Regions from separate parts of the Homo sapiens genome. Here regions 1, 3, 4, 5 and 6 are each linked to region 2. The links are contacts of gene promoters, found by promoter capture Hi-C in blood cells and fetal thymus (Javierre and others, 2016). All regions are on one chromosome and are shown on one strand. Each heading gives the region's core, a stretch centred on a gene start or on the middle of the fragment in contact. The rest is flanking DNA. Distances are from core to core; before and after follow the strand shown. Region 1 overlaps MRPL1 (mitochondrial ribosomal protein L1). Region 2 holds the start of HELQ (helicase, POLQ like). Region 3 holds the start of USO1 (USO1 vesicle transport factor). Region 4 holds the start of G3BP2 (G3BP stress granule assembly factor 2). Region 5 holds the start of CNOT6L (CCR4-NOT transcription complex subunit 6 like). Region 6 holds the start of SDAD1-AS1 (SDAD1 antisense RNA 1).

Region 1 (2,809 bases), core at 168-2,667, 5.6 Mb before region 2:
AAGGGAACTCTAACCTTTCACTATCAATTAAAAGAGATAAGAAAGGAGAGGGAGTTGTTTCTATCTCATTGCCACGGGGTGGGAGAGATTTTGAGAATGAGTGCTGGATCAGGGAGACTCAGTAGTTCAGGAAGTTCTGAGGGCTATTTTCTCTGAAGTAGCAAGTGAGGTTATATGCTAAGAATAAGGGGAAGAGAAATGTATTAATAAAGGAGATAAAATAATACAGCTAGACAAATTGACTACAAAAGGATTGAAAACATAGATATCATGATCTAACAGTGCTACTTAAATAGTGGTATTTGGTTTCTTTTGGTCTGTAGTGTTTGATTTCTGTTGAAAATTGTAGTTTCTGGTTGTCATGACTGATAGTAGTGGTTTTGCTTGCTTGCTTGCTTTTTGTTGTTTGTTTGTTTGTTTGTTTGTTTGTTTTTGAGACAGAGTTTCGCTCTTGTTGCCCAGGCTGGAGTGCAGTGGCGCGGCTCACTGCAACCTCTGCCATCCAGGTTCAAGCGATTCTTGTGCCTCAGCCTCTCAGGTAGCTGGGATTACAGGCATGCACCAACACACTCAGCTAATTTTTTTTGCGTTTTTAGTAGAGACAGTTTCATCATCTTGGTCAGGCTGGTCTCAAACTCCTGACCTCAGGTGATCCACCCACCTCAGCTTCCCAAAGTGCTGGGATTACAGGTGTGAGCCACCGCACCCAGCCTGTTTTGTTTTTTTGAGACAGGGTTCCTGTCACCCAGTCTGGAGTGGAATAGTGAGATCAGAACTCACTGCAGCCTCAACTTTCCTGGCTCAAGTGATCCTGCCACCTCAAGCAATCCTCCCACCTCAGCTTCCTGAGTAGCTGGGACTACAGCTGTGCACCGTCGCTAATTTTTAAATTTTTTGTAGAGATGGGGTTCCACTCTATTGCCCAGGCTGGGCTCGAGCTCCTGGGCTCAAGGGTTCCTCCTGCCTTGGCCTCCCAAAGTGCTGGGATTACAGACATGAGCCACTGTGACTGGCCTTGATTTTTTAAAATAGCAGATTGCAATTGATATGTTCAAGAGATTTTTTTGTTTGTTTCCCCAAGAGAATTATTATTTTGGGATCTTCCAAGGTTGTTAGGTTCTTGTATAGTACAACTAGAATTGTTTGGAAGTGTTTGCCAAGCTTCGAATGGATAATTGCTTGTTCCTTCATTTATCATACGTGATTTTTCAAAGTGCTGGGATTCCATGCATGAGCCACCACACTCAGCAATAAAATCTTTATAAACTGATATGAAGTGATCTCTCAAATGTATGCATGTACACACACCTTTATGAAAGGCACACATAAAATCTCATCTGCATCTCATGTATATGTGTGTGTATGTTTGTGAAAATAGGCTCTAATACCTTTAGGTGAAAAAGCAAGATGGAGTAGTGATTAGAGTATGCTACCATTTTATAAAAGAGGAGGGAAATATATTGGTACCTATATGTTTATATATGTATATAGTGTTTCTAAAAAGATGCATAAGGTATTGCTAACATGGGAGAGAAGCTGGGGGCCAGGTGTAGGAGGAAGACTTTACTTTTGTAATCTTTAAATAAAAACATATTTCTAATATTTACACACGCAAAAGAATATAGTTAAGATGAAAAGAATAATAATAGCTTGAAATTCTAAATATTCACTATTAAGCTTAAAAAAATAGAACATTAACAATACCTTCAAAGACCTGTGTACCTTTTTCTTATTTCTCACAGATCCAGTACCCCACTTTGTTCTTATCTTCAGAAGTACTTGGGCAACTGTGTTAATGTCTTATTTATTGTAAAAATGAACAAATAAATTAAGAAATTTTGGGATACATATACATATTCCCTAATAATAGAACTAACATACTCTGATGAATATGAAATAGTTTAAGTTAAAAATAGATGAAAACCCCAGAGCCTTGAGAGGCTGAGGAGGGAGGCCCACTTGAACCCAGGAGTTCAAGGTTATAGTGAGCTGTGTTCATGCCACTGTACTCCAGCCTGGGTGACAGAGTGAAAGCCTGTCTTTAAAAGAAAAAAAAAAGATAAGATAGTTCAAATATTAGATGTATTTACCTGCTTTTAGTTTCAAGAACTGTGGTTTCTATTATTACACTTTTTTTTTTTTTTGAGATGGAGTATCACTCTGTCGCCCAGGCTGGAGTGCGGTGGCGCTATATCGGCTCACTGCAACCTCCGCCTCCTGGGTTCAAACGATTCTCCTGCCTCAGCCTCCCAAGTAGCTGGGACTACAGGTTCGTGCCACCATGCCTGGCTAATCTTTTGTATTTTTAGTAGAGACGGGGTTTCACCGTGTTAGCAAGGATGGTCTTGATCTCCTAACCTCGTGATTCACCCGCCTCAGCCTCCTAAAGTACTGGGATTACAGGCATGAGACACTGTGCCTGGCTATTATTACACTTTTAAAAGAAGGATTAAAAATCACAAAATATTGAATGTTTTCATTTTGAAAGTACTGACTTTTAAAATTAAAAAATTATGAATATAATGATTATTTAATGTTAATATTTTACATGTTTTTCCTTTCAAGCCTTGATACATCATCAAAGGCATAGCCTTTCCAAGATGGTTTATCAGACATCACTTTGTTCTTGTTCTGTAAACATCCGAGTGCCCAACAGACATTTTGCTGCTGCTACAAAGTAAGTATTTTTTTTTAGTTATTATTTCATTTGTTGTCATTTTAATTTTTTTTAAAAAGCATGTTTAGTTCCATAAAGATTTACCAGGACATATAGTTGTAAAAGTTTATTATTTCTGCTTCATCGACCTTA
Region 2 (2,974 bases), core at 51-2,550:
CCTCAGCCTCCCAAGTAGCTAGGACTACAGGTGCAGGCCACCACACCCGGCTAATTAAGAAAAAAAAATTTTTTTTTTTTTTTGTAGAGACTGGGTCTCTGTTGCCTAGGCTGGTTTTGAACGCGAACTTCTGGGCTTAAGTGATCCTCCCATCTCTGCCTCCTAAAGCACTGGGATTATAGGCATGAGCCACTGCACACGGCCAGATTGTAATTCTTAAAGCTGTACTAAAACAGCAGGAAGACTGGTAGACGTCTACTGAAATGTCAGCGCATTCGAAGTTTCTGATAACTGCAGCGCTTCCCTCCCAGACTACAATCTACAGTGACTGGCCTCTAACAGAAACATGGTTGTACCACTAGACACTCCAAGGAGTTCCTAGGAATTTGGAATTGAGACTGAGAAACTGAATACTGACTTGGAGTGGTCTGCTACACAGAAGACACACAAACCTGGAGGCAGCAATATAGTAAAGTGATTAAGACAACAGGATTTGGAGCAAGAACTGTACTATCTCAACTTTTCAGGGCCTGATTACTGTCGTAAAATCTAGATAATATAACTAGCTTAACATAACGGGTCTTCAATAAACAGCAGATTTTATTTGTACAGTAGGAGCTGCAGTTATCTGGAAGCCTAGATTTGTGTCTCAGTCATGCCACTTAACTGCTGCGTGCACAACTTTTATGTCTCGGGGTTTACATTTCATATTTATATAGAAATGTAAATAACAAGGCAATCAATACCTCCTAAGTGCCGATTAACAGTGGTAACGAAGACGAGAGAAGTAAACGAAGGCGATAAAACTGGTCAACTCTTTGCATCTGGGAAGGATGCCAAAAGTTTGCAGTTTCAAGTTCCAAGTCCTCCGTACCTGGTCTCCCACCCCTCTGTCAGTGGGCATGTGACGTAGGAGGTCCGGGTTTGTATCACCACCTCCAAGGACGAGACATTCCGGGGAATCTGAGAGTAGAAGGGGCTGTACCTCAACCGGCAGTACGCCCGCGGTTTTCCGCCTCCTGTTCTCAGCCACCATTTCCTCCTCCTCTTTCCCCTCATCTCCGGGCACGAGCTCGGCCGCGGTGGGAGCGCCAAAAATACACCCCAAGCTTGGACGGTTCCTTTTGGGGAGAGACACCCGCCGGCGGATGCGGGAACCACATTCATCCATGGCAAGGACCCAGGGCCCTATTCAGACGTCGTTCTCAGTGACCCAGACGCTAAGCCCATATGGAAGGGAGAGTGGGACGCCGGAGCCCGCTTCTACATCCACCTTGGGAAAAGACCCCAAGTTAGCTCTCAGGGCTCGCGGACCGGAAGCACGCATAAACTTCTACCCTGTCCAATCATAAGCCTCACGTGACCTGCCGCGTAGGGAGGGCACGAACAGAAAGGTGCTGCGCATGCGTATTGAAAAACCTCACCTACTCTCGCGGGTCCTCAGCGTTCTCCTGCGGAACCTTTGAACGGGGTACTCGAGCCCACAGGGGAAGAGCAGCGGAAGGGGCCTTTCGGAACGATTTGGAACGAAAGGAAGTGGAAGAAACGCGGAACCATGGCCGCTGTGGTTGCTGTTTGCGGTGGTCTAGGGAGGAAGAAGTTGACACACTTGGTAACGGCTGCTGTCAGCCTTACACATCCCGGGACTCACACGGGTAAAGTCTCCATATCCTATGCTCCATTGTAGCGCTGCAGGCATTAACCTTAGTCCTAATGGTTAGAGTCGTCCCTGTTAGCAAAACGACTCTGGTTTCTAGGCGATTAAGTTTCTCCAAGATGGGTGGGAATCTGTAATTGCCTTTGACTGTTTTAGTGTCGTCTAATCCACTCCTTTAAAGTATTTAAACGTATGAGGAAGTTGGAGTGGTTCTTAAAAAGCAGAGACTTTCCTAAGATCTCTGGATAATCTTAGTGAGGAAGGGACATTTCCAGAGTCGCCCAGCAGCAAATTCCAGATGTCTAAGGTCCCCAAACAGAACAAAATTGCATAATTTTTGCAATTTTATCTTCTCTGTGCTTCTCTATAAATTCTTTCTGGGACGGGTCTGTTACTTTCTTTTTGGTATGACAGTGCCTTTCTGTTGCTTCTCCTATAAGAATTTGCATTAAGAATTTTCTCTAACCATGGAATGAAGGGAAAATAAATGTCAGAAAGAGCAGGTATGGGCGGGAAAATATGTTCTTTTCCCCCTAAGCCCTGGAAAGCACACCCATGTTGAGTCTTACTCTGTCCCAAATATAAAAGTTTTTAACCATTCTGAATATAATACAAAACCTTTCTTTAATATCGTGTCCCTTAATTCATCCTGTCTCCATAAAAACAAAAATCTTTAGCTATTCAGCTAAGAAAAAGAAATGGTTAATTGCTGTTTCTGTTTAATCGCAGTGCTTTGGAGAAGAGGTTGTTCACAACAGGTATCCAGCAATGAGGACCTGGTAAGAATTTTTTTTTCTATTAGTAAGGCCTTTGCAAATATGACCAAAATGTTTTTCTTTTTAAAACGAGATCTGGTATTAGACTCTAACATCTTTTATTTTAGCTACTTGAATAGAGTTCTGCCGTAGGACAAAACAATTTGATAATTACTCTGAGTTCAGAAATGATGATGAATTGATTGTAGTCATGTAGTCAGCTGAGTTTTGAAGTAGGGGAATTCCTAGATTAGAAGCAAAGCTGCTATAATACCATATTTTTCTTCCTAGATCTTAAATTTAAGGATATGTGATTTGGGAATTGTTTTTTTTTTTTTTACATAGCCCTTTGTAAGCAAATGATATGGGAATTTTAAAAGGTAGTTTGGGTGAGCAGAATTTTAGATAACTGAAAAGAGACTGTACAAAGCTTAGCTATAGGTTGGCTATAGTATTAACATGGACTTTCTGAAAGCACAGGTTCTTGCTACATGCAAAGGTATTTTGACACTAATTAGACCATACAAAGCACTTGGCACAGAGCTGAAGAGTAGTTACGTGA
Region 3 (3,002 bases), core at 42-2,541, 7.7 Mb before region 2:
GGGAACAACTGGAGGATTTTAAGAGGAATGACATGAACAGATGTTTTGTTGTTGTTAGTCTCACCCAAGGATGGACTGGAGATTGGACTGGAAGGAAGCCAGGGCTGAATGCAGACAAACTAATTAGGAGGCTGTTGCTGTCATCTCAATGAGAAATGATGAGAAGAACATAATCTATGTCACAGGCACAGAGGATGGAGAGCAGAACACCTATTTGAGAAATATTCTATAAATAGAAATGATAGGACATGACTATTGATTGGACATGTGTGGGTGGAAAGCCAGAGTCTAAGATTCTTCCCAGCTTCCTCTGTCTAGCTTAGGCAATTATTTGGACAGTGGTACTACTGAGCACGGCACGCACACAGTAGAAGCAGCATATTGACTTTTTTTCTTTAAGGGAGGCAGGGAAAGATGACGAGTTCAATTTTAAATGCTGAATCTGAGACCTGTGGGGAATCCAAGGGGAGAGGTGCATGAGTCAGTTAGCTAACTAGACCTGTGCTTTTTAGCCTCAAGAAATTTACAAGACTATTCCAGAAGCATGTGTACTGACAACCTCACTGCCAAAGGAACAGGCATACCAATTAGAGAAAATGACAATTTTTCATGTTAAAAAAAAAAAAACTGAAAACACAGGGGTTGAGAGTTAATAACGAAACATTATGTTACTCGCCAAACTGACACAGCAGAACAATGTATTTCTCTAGTAAGCTAAATGTAGGGTTTGATGGGTTTCCTCCTGACGACACTTGAAAATAGAGGTGTACCTGGTGTTTAGATCTAGGAATTCCTTTCAGCAGGTTTGAAGAGCAAGAGCTGAGAAATGCGCCCTCCAGTGGCAGTGGAATGAGGGGTGTCTAGTAACCCTTTTTACCACCAAACAAAGCCCTGTAAAGAAATGCAATTTACCGGGATCAGAAAGCCACAATGCTGGTACCAGTAAACCGTCAAACCAAGCGAACCCTCTCAGGCGCCAGGAAGCCTTACCTGTCACGTTGGCCAAAGGAAAATTTCACTTTCGACTCAACAAAATAAGACCTCAGATTTGATAGCTTGCAGTAAGTCCCGCTTGGCGACGATTAAACACCCTGCAAGTCGAAACGCGTAGTCTAATCAAATCCTCTCCAGCCTGCAGGGCCGGGCTTCCACCACGTGGGTGGCTGCGGCCAGCAGGATCAATCCGCGAAGGGTGGGGGTAGGAGGCGTGCCCCTGCGGTGGGAGGCGGGGTCTGCGCAGTGGGTGGGGCTTCGGCGGAACCTAGCTAAGAGGTTCCTCTCGCCTCCGCTCCCCTTTTGCCTTCAACCTTCGAGCCGCCACGTAATGCCACGTCCCCGCGCATGCGCATCTTGGCCGCTGCTGGCGGCTGTTTCCGGGCTTAGAGGGCTGGAGTGGCCGCCGAGTTGGAGGCGGTGGTGGCAGCAGTAGGAGTGTGTAGAGTGCGGGATTGGGGCCCAGGCCCTGCGGAGGGCGGGGGAAGTTGTCTTCTTTTTTTTCCGGAGGGGCCGGTAAACCTGGTGGCTGAACGGCAAGATGAATTTCCTCCGCGGGGTAATGGGGGGTCAGAGTGCCGGACCCCAGCACACAGAAGCCGAGACGGTGAGAGGAGCAGCGGGTCTGGGACTTGGGAAGGGGTCCGGGCAGGGACGGGGACGGAGCACTCGGAGACCCGAAGGTCACCTCCAGCGTCCCACCATGGAGGGGGCATCCACATGCCGCCTCCCCCTTTGCCCTCCTTCCGCTCCTGAAATCCCAGAGTTATTCAATCACGCCCCCAGCTCAGTCCCCATTGCTGCCGTTCGGCCGGACTGACGGCGGCCGCGCCCCGCAGCTCTGTAGGCCCTGAAGCTCGGGCTAGGAGAGTGGTCCGCAGGTGGTACCGCACGGGAAGGGACGGATGCGCGGCCGAGCTGGCCCGAACTGCCTCCCACGCCCCTCGGGGCCGTGGGCCCCTCCCTCTTTCTCTTTCGCTCGTCTGCACTGGCCGAGAGGAGCCTGAAGTCCTGCTCCCTCCCTCGCAGTCTGAAACTGGGGCGTTGGGGAAAACTGCGAGAAGGTTTAAAACCCAGCTGTTGGTGAGAGCATTTGGCTAAGAATAAAACGATATTCTTTGAAGGACAAATCCACCTGCTCCTGTCCCATCAACTGGAAGAGCGGTCGTTCTGCCTGGTGTTATTTGTTCAGATCCGGCTTTTCGGGCTCACCCAAATATATATCATTTGGCAAATGCTACCTTGAACGTAGTAGGGATCTTAAGCGCTCAAACTGCTTTGGGGACACGTCCACCGCTTTCTGCCTGAACTCCTAATGACATGATTTGCGGCGTTATTTAAAAAAAAAAAAAAATGGTTAGCCGCTGAAAACATTATTTAATAGTTGCTTAGATTCTAGGTTTAGAATACACTTATTTTGAAGTTTGGTTAGTGTTTAATGGAATCGAGGGTGTATGCCTTTTTGAAATAAACTTTTTATTTGAGAAGAATTTTAGATCTACATAAAAGAGACTAAGTATAACACTTTAATGGCTAACTTTGTTAATGGGATCCTGAGGGATAATATAGTAGCTTTCATTTGTCAGGCTCTTACCTTGTGCTAGGTTCTGTGCTGAGCTCTTTATATTCCACATTATGCTTTAATCGTTAACTACCCTGCAAGATAGGTGAGAGTATTCTCACCTTAAAAGTCAAAAAATGAGACTGAGAGGGGTGAAGTAGGCCGGACGCGGTGGCTCACGCCTCTAATCCCAGCACTTTGGGAGGCTGAGGCCGGCGGATCACCTGAGGTCGGGAGTTCGAGACCAGCCTGACCAACATGGAGAAACCCCGTCTCTACTAAAAATACAGAATTAGCCGGCCGTGGTGGCACATGCCTGTAATCCCAGCCACTCGGAAGGCTGAGGCAGGAGAATCGCTTGAACTCGGGAGGCGGAGGTTACGGTGAGCAGAGATCGTGCCATTGCACTCTAGCCTGGGCAACAAGAGCGAAACTCTGTCTCAAAAAA
Region 4 (3,063 bases), core at 552-3,051, 7.8 Mb before region 2:
ACACTTTGGTTAGGAACAACCGCTTTGGAAGAGCAGCCAGCTCTTCCAACAATACAAAAAATTAATTTTAAACAAGCAATTGTTAGCTTATGTGAAACTGTTGAGAAGAGTGAAAAGCAAAGGAATACAGCAGGACAGCAACAGAAAATCCAAGAATAATTTTCAATATACCTATGGTTTCAAGATAGGGTAAAATACTTGGAAATTAGCAGATAAAAGTAAGCAGAAACACGACAGTCAAGAAACTAATTCTATTGCTTCTGAAGGTAGGCCAGGACCTTCCTGAAGGTGGGTGGACCAATTTATTCTATCGGATATAAAACAAGTGTCTACCAGTGGAGAGTAACTAGGTCATGTTTGTCCATTAAATTCTACTGAATTTAAGTTCAGACGCAACACTTTAGTTTGTGCCTTTCAAAATCAACATTGAAAAGGAGTCATTCACTGTCTCCATATTCACTCAAAATATGTGGAAAGTCTTTTTAAAGCAATCTAGGGGGAAAATGTTCAATCCTAATTATGCGTAATAAACAGCGATAATTTTGCAGGATAAGGAGGGAAGTTTTCAGAATCTAAAGACACAGTGCCAACACTTTCTTCAAACCAGGAGTTGCCTGCTGACAAATCAACTGCTCAGCTGCTAACTGAACAGTTAAGTTAGTTACTCTACGAAATGGTCAAATAATGTGTTTTCTTCTTTACCTTCTAATTTTTATCCCCATCCATCCCACAAGCATTCTGGTTCACTCTTGATGTTTTTTCACTATTACTAATATTTCGACCCTGAATATCAATCTGAACTATGACAGCTCTTAGTAAGAAATTCATTCTAGGTCCTTATTATTCCTACAATTCCTTGACTGCTTTTCAGAATTAGTTTGTAAAGATTAAATCATAACATAAAGGCCCATAAGAGTAATCTTAAACATTTAAGAAAAATGTTACTGCCAAAGAAAGGATAATTCAATCCTGAGGTTCAAACTCATCGTACCGTTTATCTCCTAAGACCAGGAATCTTGGATTATCAAAAAGACCACTGGATGCTAACAGGGCCAAAAGTTTACTTAGAAACTTGGTTCACATGCCTAAGGCTATATTAACTGCCAAATATGGAGCTAGAGAAAAATTGCCATCATCTCCCACTCTAGTACACCGGGGCTCTCTTAACGACAGTTAATGTTTCCTAGATCCAGGTACCTGCAACACTAACGTTTGAAAGACCAGAACAAGGTACAGAGCCTTGAACCTAAAACCACAGTATCTTAATCCAAGTTAATATCCCACAACAATCATACAGGGAGAACAGGACTTTACTATTCCAGCTAAAAGTGCAAGTGCCTTTTTTTTGTTGTTGTTATGAAGGAAAAGGCACTCTCCTCCCACCCCCCAAATCCGTTAGAACATTAAGTATGTCTTGGGGAAAAAAGCTGATCTATGCAGGAAATTATAGACGAAAATCTATATTCGCCCCAAAGCGGCAAAGGGCCATCTTAAGAAATCTGCTTTTAGAGACGCAGGAAAAATTCTATCAGATTCCACTAACAAAATCAACACAATCTAGGGAAGCTTCTGTTCCTTTCTGTCCCCCCATCCCAACAAAAGCGGGAACCCATCCCCCAAAAGCCATTCCCGAGTCAATAAGGGATCGTCTGCATAAGAGGGGGACGAAGAAGGCGCACGTTACAGTTCCAGTATCCGAACACGTTCGGATTAAACCCGCGGTGGCAGGGAGAGGGGGGTTGGTCAAACACGACGGAACACTAGGTACTGGGTAAGCGAAGCGGCGGCTGCCTTCAAACCCGGATTCTGTTTCCGTGCACAGAAATGGTGCCCGGAGGCCGCCACTTTCGCATCTGCGTCGCTTCTGCCTCCGTCGACACAACCTCTTTTCCCCTCCCCCCACGGGCGGGGTGGCGACGGCCTCTCCGCTCCGAAGGAACAAGGTACAAGAGCCGAAAACGATTCGGAAACAGGAACGGTGGGCTACCCACCCTAAAACATCCCCTCCAGAAAGCCTGCTCCCACACTTCCTGTATTAAGCTTCCATCAGCGCGCCTTCGGGAGCTGCTGCGTGCCTCCCCCCCCACTTCGCCACCTCATCCCCAATAAACCTCAACCCCACCTGTGCACTCGGAGCCCTCTGCCCGCAAGACGCTCGCGGGTCACCTCCCTTCCCAGGCGGCCTCCCACCCCTCACCTAGAGGAAAGACTGGTCTTCTCTCACGCACACACGGCACCGTAGGGAGCCGGCAAGAACAATGTCTCTGCCGCTACACCTCCGGCTCCCGGGCTCACACACCGGACGATTGCCTCGCGCCGCGGAGCGCGAATGGAATGTCCCTTTCCGACCACCACACCGACCTCCCCTCCCGGCGCCCGTACACACCTCCAGCCAACGGCGGCGGCGGGTACGTCGCGCGGAGGTCAGAAGAGTCGCTGAGGACCGGGTGCGGCGGGTTCTTATTGCTCGCCGCCCCCTTCCTCCGACAACTCGGAAGCCTCGGAAGCCGGAGAGCCGCGAGTTCGTCTGCCTCACAACCACCTCTTCCCGGGCGCCAGGCGCTGCGACGTGCGACAAGGACCACGGACGTCCCGCCCCCTTTGCCACCGCCCCCTCTTATTGTTTTACCCCTGCCGAAAGGGCCAGGGAACCCCCGAGCACAGCGTCAGCCAATCACGCATCTCCTCCAGAGCCGGACCCAACCTTCCCGTGTCCCTCTGCGGAGCACGCGCAGTACGCTGCCGCGCTCGCACACGCTCGCGCCCGGAAAGCCGGGGAACCGGAACCGGCCTAAAGCCAAGATAAGAGTCCGCTGATTTGACGTCACAAGCAGGCTGCCTTTCTCCGGTCCCGAGGCTCCAGCCTTGCCGCCCTTCTTCCTGATCGCGCAAGCGAGAGCTGGTTCGCAGCAACGCAGTGTCTTTTGTAGACTGATATTCTGGTCCTTTTTATTAATGGGAAGGAGGGAATTTAGTAATCTCTCTGAATAGGTGTCTGCAGGTTGCTGCTGTAGACGAGCTTAAAATGCAGCCGGTGATTTCAGCTGTTTGCACACTAAACTC
Region 5 (2,962 bases), core at 126-2,625, 5.6 Mb before region 2:
CAGGTTTATCTTTACAACTGGGTTTTGCTTAGGCTATTCTCAAAATAGCTTTCCAGCAGCACATACTGAGTAGACAACAGAGGTTGCTTGATCTAGTTTTTGGAGACTGAGGAAAACATGTTTGTTGAGCCTATCTTGATTGACAAGATAACTAGAGGCAATACGGTAAAATGTAACACTGTGCTTCCAATGTGTACAAACGGCTCAGCTAAACTCCCTGAACACAATCCACCTAAACAGTCTAAGCTCAATAGCCGACCGAGTTAAGCAGGATGACAGCTCCAGTAACTTCCTCTTCCTCACCCAGCTCCTCAGCTCGGCGGCGCGTACACGCCTCTCCCCCTAGGAGGCAGGATAAAACAATTTCAAATGCACAAAATCCATCCAATCCCACAGGCCAGGAAAGCCAGTTTCCCTTTCTTCCTCAGCCCTTCCAAGAAAATGTTTGTCTAATTAAAAAAAAAAAAATCTTACCAACGGCAAAGTATTTGCAACAAAAATCCAAAATATTTACTCAGTCCCTCCACACAGCCTTAGGGGAAGGATGAAAAGAAGGGAACACGACACCGCGTATTCCCAAGACTGACTGTTCTGATTCACTTTCCTCCCTCGGGTCCCACAGCCGGCCGGGCGAAGGCTTGCAGTTGGAACGCCAAAATAAGCCTTCGCCTCTCAGGAGACGCGGAGGCGGCCACGGCGACGGCAATCGGCGAGTCCCGCCTCCGACCCTCACCTGCCCAGGCCCGAGGCAGCGCCGTGGGCTCGCGCGGGCTCGCCGTCCCGGGAGGCGTCCGGGGAGGTGGGCGGGCGCCCAGGCAGTTAGGCCGCGCTGCAGGCCGGCGCGCTTCCTGCCGCGGCCGGGGAACGGCGGCCCCGGGATCAGCGGCGCGGCACCGACCAGCAGCTCTCCCAGCCCCGCTGCCGCGCGTGTGCCGCACTCACTCAGCCCTCCCCGGCCGGCCCCCTAGGAGCAGCTCTCACCTGCGAGGCTCGGGAGCCGCAGCCACAAAGCGGGAGGGACACGCCACTCTGGGGTCCCGGCCCCGGGCCACCCCCGACACACACACACACACACACACACACCCCGGAACCTTCGCCCGCCTCTGAAGAGACGCGGGTCAGCCCCGCCGCCCCCTCCAGTCACCCGACACACACCCACTCGCCGTGGGTCCTCGGGCCGCCTCCCCGCCCGCCAAAGTCCCAACTCGCACACCCACACGCACATTTGTCCCTCTCCCACCTCATTTCCCCGGGGACGCGCTCCTCTTCCCAACACTCTCGGTCCTACTCGGAGGCAAAAGAACACTCTACCTCATTCTCTTCCTCTGGCCCAGAAGCAACAGCAGCCATTTCCCCGCGGCAGGGGAAACACACACACAAACACGCGCGCGCGCGCGCACCAGGCCCCCACAGATGCTTCCCCTCCAGAGCCGCGGCCGCAGACGCAGACGCAAACACAAACACCCACGGCGGGCCTCGCTCCCGCCCGCCCCGAGGGGAAGCCGCGGCGGCACACAGGGCCCGTAACCGGGGCTCGCGGGCGGGCGCGCAGGGAACCCGGGCCCGGGGTCTCGGGGGGCCCGCGCCCCCTCCTCACCTGCATTCAGCGCGCCGGGGTCCGGGCGGCGGCGGCGGCGGCGGCGACGGGGCGGCTGGTGCTGGTGCTGCGGCGGCGGGGGAGGCGGCGGCGGCGGTGGCGGCGGGGCTGAGGGCAGCAAAGACATGCAGGCAGCCCGCCGGAGGGGAGAGGCACCGGCCGGAGGGGATGCGGGGCGGGCGGGCCGGGCCGGGCCGCCTGACGAACGGCAGAGGCGGCGGCGCGGAAGGCGGCTGAAGGGAGCGAGGAGACAGACCGGGGGTCGGGAAGGGGGACGAGGGCCGCGCCGCCGGGCTTCGAGGACAGTGACCCCAGGCGCGCAAGAGAGGCCCCGCGGCCGCGGCCGCCGGCGCGAAGGCCCCAGCCGAAGGAAGCTGCGCCCCCGCAGGGCCGGAGCCGCGGCTACTGCTCCGAGAGCCACGCAGAGCCTGGCCTTGGCCTTGGCCTCCTGGTGCTGGGGCTGCCGCCGCTGCGGGGGTTGCCGCTGCGCCGGGTGCTGCTGGGGCCGAGGTTGAACAGAGACGCCAGCTTTCGGTGCCTTCGCTCCCGCTCACACACGTTCACACCCCCGAGGGCCGGGGGAGAGGCGTCCGGGCGATATCGGTATTGAGATTAATAACAAGGTGCAGAGAGTGCGAGAACGAGGAGGGTTGATTGACGTGGAGGGGCTGGCGGGAGTCAGTCACTCCCCGGCGCGGAGGGTTGGGGTGAGGGGAAGGAGGCGGGGCGGTGACGGGGCGGAGCTCCTACGCAGCGCCTTGGCCCCGCCCCCCGTGCGCCGCGTTTTGTCGCGGTGAGCGCGCGGAGGCCCGGGCTTCTTAATGGTTTTCTGTTTTGCTCTGGCTGTTTTCTCACTCTTTTTTCCTGGCCTGAGCGAGGAGCGGGGCTGAGAAGAGTGGTAGAGTTTCAGAAACCCACATCCACAGAGCCTTGGCGAAGAGACGGGAAACCGCCTCACCCCGGGTTCTTGTGTGGGCGCTGTTTACTGCACCCTCCTCGCCCGAGGCGACCTGACAGCGAAGCAGAGCGTAGGTCTAGGTGGCTGAGACGCCAGGGGAGGTGAAGTGACCGAAGGAAATGTTTCCTGACATATTCGGTGGATTTTTTTTAAAAACATATAGCATCTGTAAGTTGTATCGTCAAAGGTAAATAAAAGAACCTGTGACGCTCAGCGATAACCCGGTCCTATTTTCTAATTCTCCCTTCTCGTTGTAGACTTTAGTTTGTTGTTTGTAGCTTATCCATGCCATCTACAGAATGAAAACATCCAAATGCAAACTAGAAATAGTAGTGTTTACTTGGTGAACCTGGCTGTGATACTTTAAGTTTCTGGGGTTTGTTTTTGTTTTTGTGGGCCAGCTTCAG
Region 6 (2,999 bases), core at 498-2,997, 7.5 Mb before region 2:
TTCCCCTGGCAAGGTGGTGACAATCTGAACATAAAGTAATTAAAATAATAATACTAAAAAAAAGTTTTAAAGTACATAAAAAGGTAGTTATAATGTCAATGAAATACATATAACTTGACTTTTATTGATTTGACTAAGTAGGTAAGAATTACTATATATGGATATTTTATTTCTTCCAAAAAAAATACAATGTTTCTATCTGTGTAAGCAGGACAGAGTGAACAAAATCTTGGGAATGATTCAAAAAGTCTTGGAAAAATAGCAAATACACCAGGTAGAAAGATAGCCCAGTGGCTGATAAGAATTGTTGGTTATCCCAATAACCAATTAAAAAGAGCTTCTTCCAGTGTGTTCAATGCTTCCTCTAAAGAGCAATGCTAACTATACAGACGCAATCCTTTATCTCCTAGTAAAGGAAATCTCTATTATTATTATTATTTTTTTTTTTTGAGACAGAGGCTGGAGTGCAATGGCGCGATCTCGGCTCACTGCAACCTCCGCCTCCCAGGTTCAAGCAATTCTCCTGACTGAGCCTCCCAAGTAGCTGGGATTACAGGCACGCACCACCATGCCCGGCTTATTTTGTATTTTTAGTAGAGACAGGGTTTCTCCATGTAGGTCAGGCTGGTCTCGAACTCCCGACCTCAGGTGATCCTCCTGCCTCGGCCTCCCAAAGTGCTGGGATTACAGGCGTGAGCCACCGCGCCTGGCGGAAATCTTTATTATTTTTTAAAAACCTACTAATCATCATAAAGCACTATAAAGAAATATACATACACATTTTTTTCCATTTAAAAAAAAATTTAGAGGTGGGATCTTGCTATGTTGCCTAGGCTGCAGTGTAGTGGCTATTCACAGGCATGCTCATACCACACCTCAGCCTCAAACTCCTGACCTCAAGCAATCCTCCTGCCTCAGCCTCCCAAGAAGCCGGGACTACAGGTGCACCTGGCATATATATTAATTTAATAATGCCCACAGACCAGTTTGGTGGGGTACTGCCAGGAAAATAAAACTTAAAGAAATCCTAATTACTTGGAAAGCCATTAAGTCTCTATACTCAAAATATCAAATCTCTATGACCTACAAGGACTTCAAGAGTAACATGACATAGGTAAAAGCCTTTAGACTAGGGGTTCAAGTTTGGAGTCCCTTGGGCTATACTGCCAGGTCCCATGTACCAGCTGAGTATCAATCAGTTGACAACCCAGGGCCTGAAACCTTGGCTTGTCTGAGACAGTATTCTTTTTCTTTTTGGCCTAATCAAATTACTAAAATCCTAAAGTAGTATAAAAATGATAGAAATACAAAAAACCTGAGAAAGTCTAAAAGAAAACAAATATTCATCTAAAGACTTGGCATTTCTACAAGTTGTGCTATAGGATATTAGTACGTTTTGTGATCATATTTGCGTACTTATCTGCTGTAAAGAGGTTTGAAAAGCAGATGTATTAAATTTGGAAATGTCTTAGTCCCTAGAAGCAGAGACTGATTTATTACAAGTGATTTGTTGGGGGTATGATCTCAGAAAGGAAGTGAAGGAAGGAGGATAGTGCAGAGACACGCAAAGCAAAGCAAGGATGTGCCCTTGACTGGAGACTAGCTTTAGTCCCAACACAGGAAAACACTGGAGCACATCCTGCATTGGAGTCAGAGCCACCCTGAGGTAATGGGCTGGGCTTTTGTACCACATGATAATGGGCTGTGGGCTACTAGGGTAGGAGGACACCTCCCAGGCACTAGGACTCCGATTTAGCTGAGGACAATGTTGCAGAGAAAGGGCAGCTGAGGGCCACCAGCAGCTGACATTCACAACAAGTGGGGCAAACAGGTACACCGGCCTCGTGAAGGGAATGTCAGCCAGGACTCAACCCCAACCACTAAAAGGACAATGATGAAATGCTCAAACTGACTGTCTAATGGGTAAGTTTACTAATTTAAGGCATTATAAAAATGACAAGTTGTGATTAGGATTCTACATGCATATGAGATTTGAATGACTAGAAGAAATCATCTCAAAAGGTTAAAGAGCATCCTGTAGGGTTAGTGTGCTGGAAGAATAGAAAGATCACAGTGTAGCTGAAAACAATATGATATCAGAAACACAGGCTGGAAGCAGATCATGCAGGCACTTTTGAGCCAGGTTATTAAGTTTCCGTTTTACTCTAAGTATAAATGAGAAGCCATAGAAGGATTTTTAGGAAAGGATAATACATTATAATTTACGTTTTCTGAAGATAATTAGCTTAGAGGCTGTTCTCATTTAAATATATATGAACGCAGCACACATGAACACAGCACAATTTATTCATCCAACTACTGGTCCTACCATTCGCAGATCTGGATCCAATACGGTATGATTGCAGGAGAGAAGATCTTTCACCTCTTGAGGAAAATTACTTAGGTACTCTGGGTAGCAGTGACTAATCTGTAACAAAGCAAAGGCTCTTCTGAAGTTGCTCTCTTTCTCTCCTATAATTCAGATGCATACATTTAGGATGTTCTGCAAAACGAGAGTAAAAGGCTATGTTTCATAGAAGTAGATGGTTCCAAACAACCTTCTTTTCCTTCTACATGTTAATTTCTCCAACATTTATCATGGTTTCTCTAGTCTTAGTAATATTTATGGCATGATTTAGTACCTGCTTTTATGATGAATTTGAAGAAAAAAAATAGTCTTAAAGTTTTGTCCTGGTTAGTTATGCAAAAAGATCTAGTGACATTCTCTAACTCATGATAGGGAGAAAATAAAATTTGCAAAAAGGGAAAGTTAGAAAAATATTTTAATTAAGTTCCCATTCCAGAGTGGAATAAGGTTGAGTATTAGTGAAAAAACATTCAGCAAACTGTGTGTTAATACTGGTCTTTATTTAAGCAATTATATTCTTACCTGTGCCATAAACATCACCAGCTCTGCTAGTTCTTTGCTGGGTTTATTTGGTTGCAATTTGAAAATCTCCACATTGGATTTGTAGTGATTATACTGCTGTAGAAACTGC

The links. Contacts are between HindIII fragments. The CHiCAGO score rates a contact against its expected background, and 5 or more counts as called.
Region 1: a contact is called between a fragment that was not itself captured here and the fragment with the promoter of HELQ in region 2, in 1 of 17 cell types (total B cells). The highest score is 6.2, in total B cells.
Region 3: a contact is called between the fragment with the promoter of USO1 here and the fragment with the promoter of HELQ in region 2, in 1 of 17 cell types (total CD8 T cells). The highest score is 5.9, in total CD8 T cells.
Region 4: a fragment that was not itself captured here is called in contact with the fragment with the promoter of HELQ in region 2 in 1 of 17 cell types (total CD4 T cells); the score reaches 9.3 in total CD4 T cells.
Region 5: a contact is called between the fragment with the promoter of CNOT6L here and the fragment with the promoter of HELQ in region 2, in 1 of 17 cell types (total B cells). The highest score is 5.3, in total B cells.
Region 6: the fragment with the promoter of SDAD1-AS1 here is called in contact with the fragment with the promoter of HELQ in region 2 in 1 of 17 cell types (naive CD4 T cells); the score reaches 6.5 in naive CD4 T cells.

The regions. Positions count from the first base shown.
Region 1 is chr4:77,869,179-77,871,987 of GRCh38, forward strand. It overlaps MRPL1 (mitochondrial ribosomal protein L1), which reads left to right. Exons shown (of 9, transcript NM_020236.4): 2 at 2,566-2,677. Among named protein-coding and RNA genes, the nearest start is that of MRPL1, 7.8 kb to the left of the region's middle. The HindIII fragment of the contact is 516 bases long and covers 1,160-1,675 here.
Region 2 is chr4:83,454,523-83,457,496 of GRCh38, forward strand. HELQ (helicase, POLQ like) reads right to left here and starts at 1,301. Exons shown (of 18, transcript NM_133636.5): 1 at 875-1,301. The coding sequence starts at 1,171. MRPS18C (mitochondrial ribosomal protein S18C) reads left to right here and starts at 1,536. Exons shown (of 6, transcript NM_016067.4): 1 at 1,536-1,655; 2 at 2,387-2,436. The coding sequence starts at 1,556. RefSeq lists enhancers at 549-1,379, 808-857, 1,198-1,307, 1,294-1,588. The HindIII fragment of the contact is 1,733 bases long and covers 1,108-2,840 here.
Region 3 is chr4:75,723,286-75,726,287 of GRCh38, forward strand. USO1 (USO1 vesicle transport factor) reads left to right here and starts at 1,292. Exons shown (of 24, transcript NM_003715.4): 1 at 1,292-1,600. The coding sequence starts at 1,535. It also overlaps a transcript of G3BP2 not described here. RefSeq lists enhancers at 482-1,402, 1,403-2,322, 1,419-1,498 and silencers at 1,079-1,248, 1,583-1,760. The HindIII fragment of the contact is 5,085 bases long and covers 1-3,002 here.
Region 4 is chr4:75,670,822-75,673,884 of GRCh38, forward strand. G3BP2 (G3BP stress granule assembly factor 2) reads right to left here and starts at 2,590. Exons shown (of 12, transcript NM_203505.3): 1 at 2,387-2,590. RefSeq lists enhancers at 1,470-2,447, 1,880-2,119, 2,400-2,689. The HindIII fragment of the contact is 474 bases long and covers 1,565-2,038 here.
Region 5 is chr4:77,817,993-77,820,954 of GRCh38, forward strand. It overlaps CNOT6L (CCR4-NOT transcription complex subunit 6 like), which reads right to left and starts at 1,376. Exons shown (of 12, transcript NM_144571.3): 1 at 1,312-1,376. The coding sequence starts at 1,316. RefSeq lists silencers at 673-1,072, 1,153-1,222, 1,713-1,812, 1,853-2,012, 2,273-2,422. The HindIII fragment of the contact is 6,822 bases long and covers 1-2,962 here.
Region 6 is chr4:75,979,043-75,982,041 of GRCh38, forward strand. SDAD1-AS1 (SDAD1 antisense RNA 1) reads left to right here and starts at 1,748. Exons shown (of 3, transcript NR_125906.1): 1 at 1,748-1,923. SDAD1 (SDA1 domain containing 1) reads right to left here. Exons shown (of 22, transcript NM_018115.4): 2 at 2,891-2,995; 3 at 2,330-2,428. The HindIII fragment of the contact is 11,776 bases long and covers 1-2,999 here.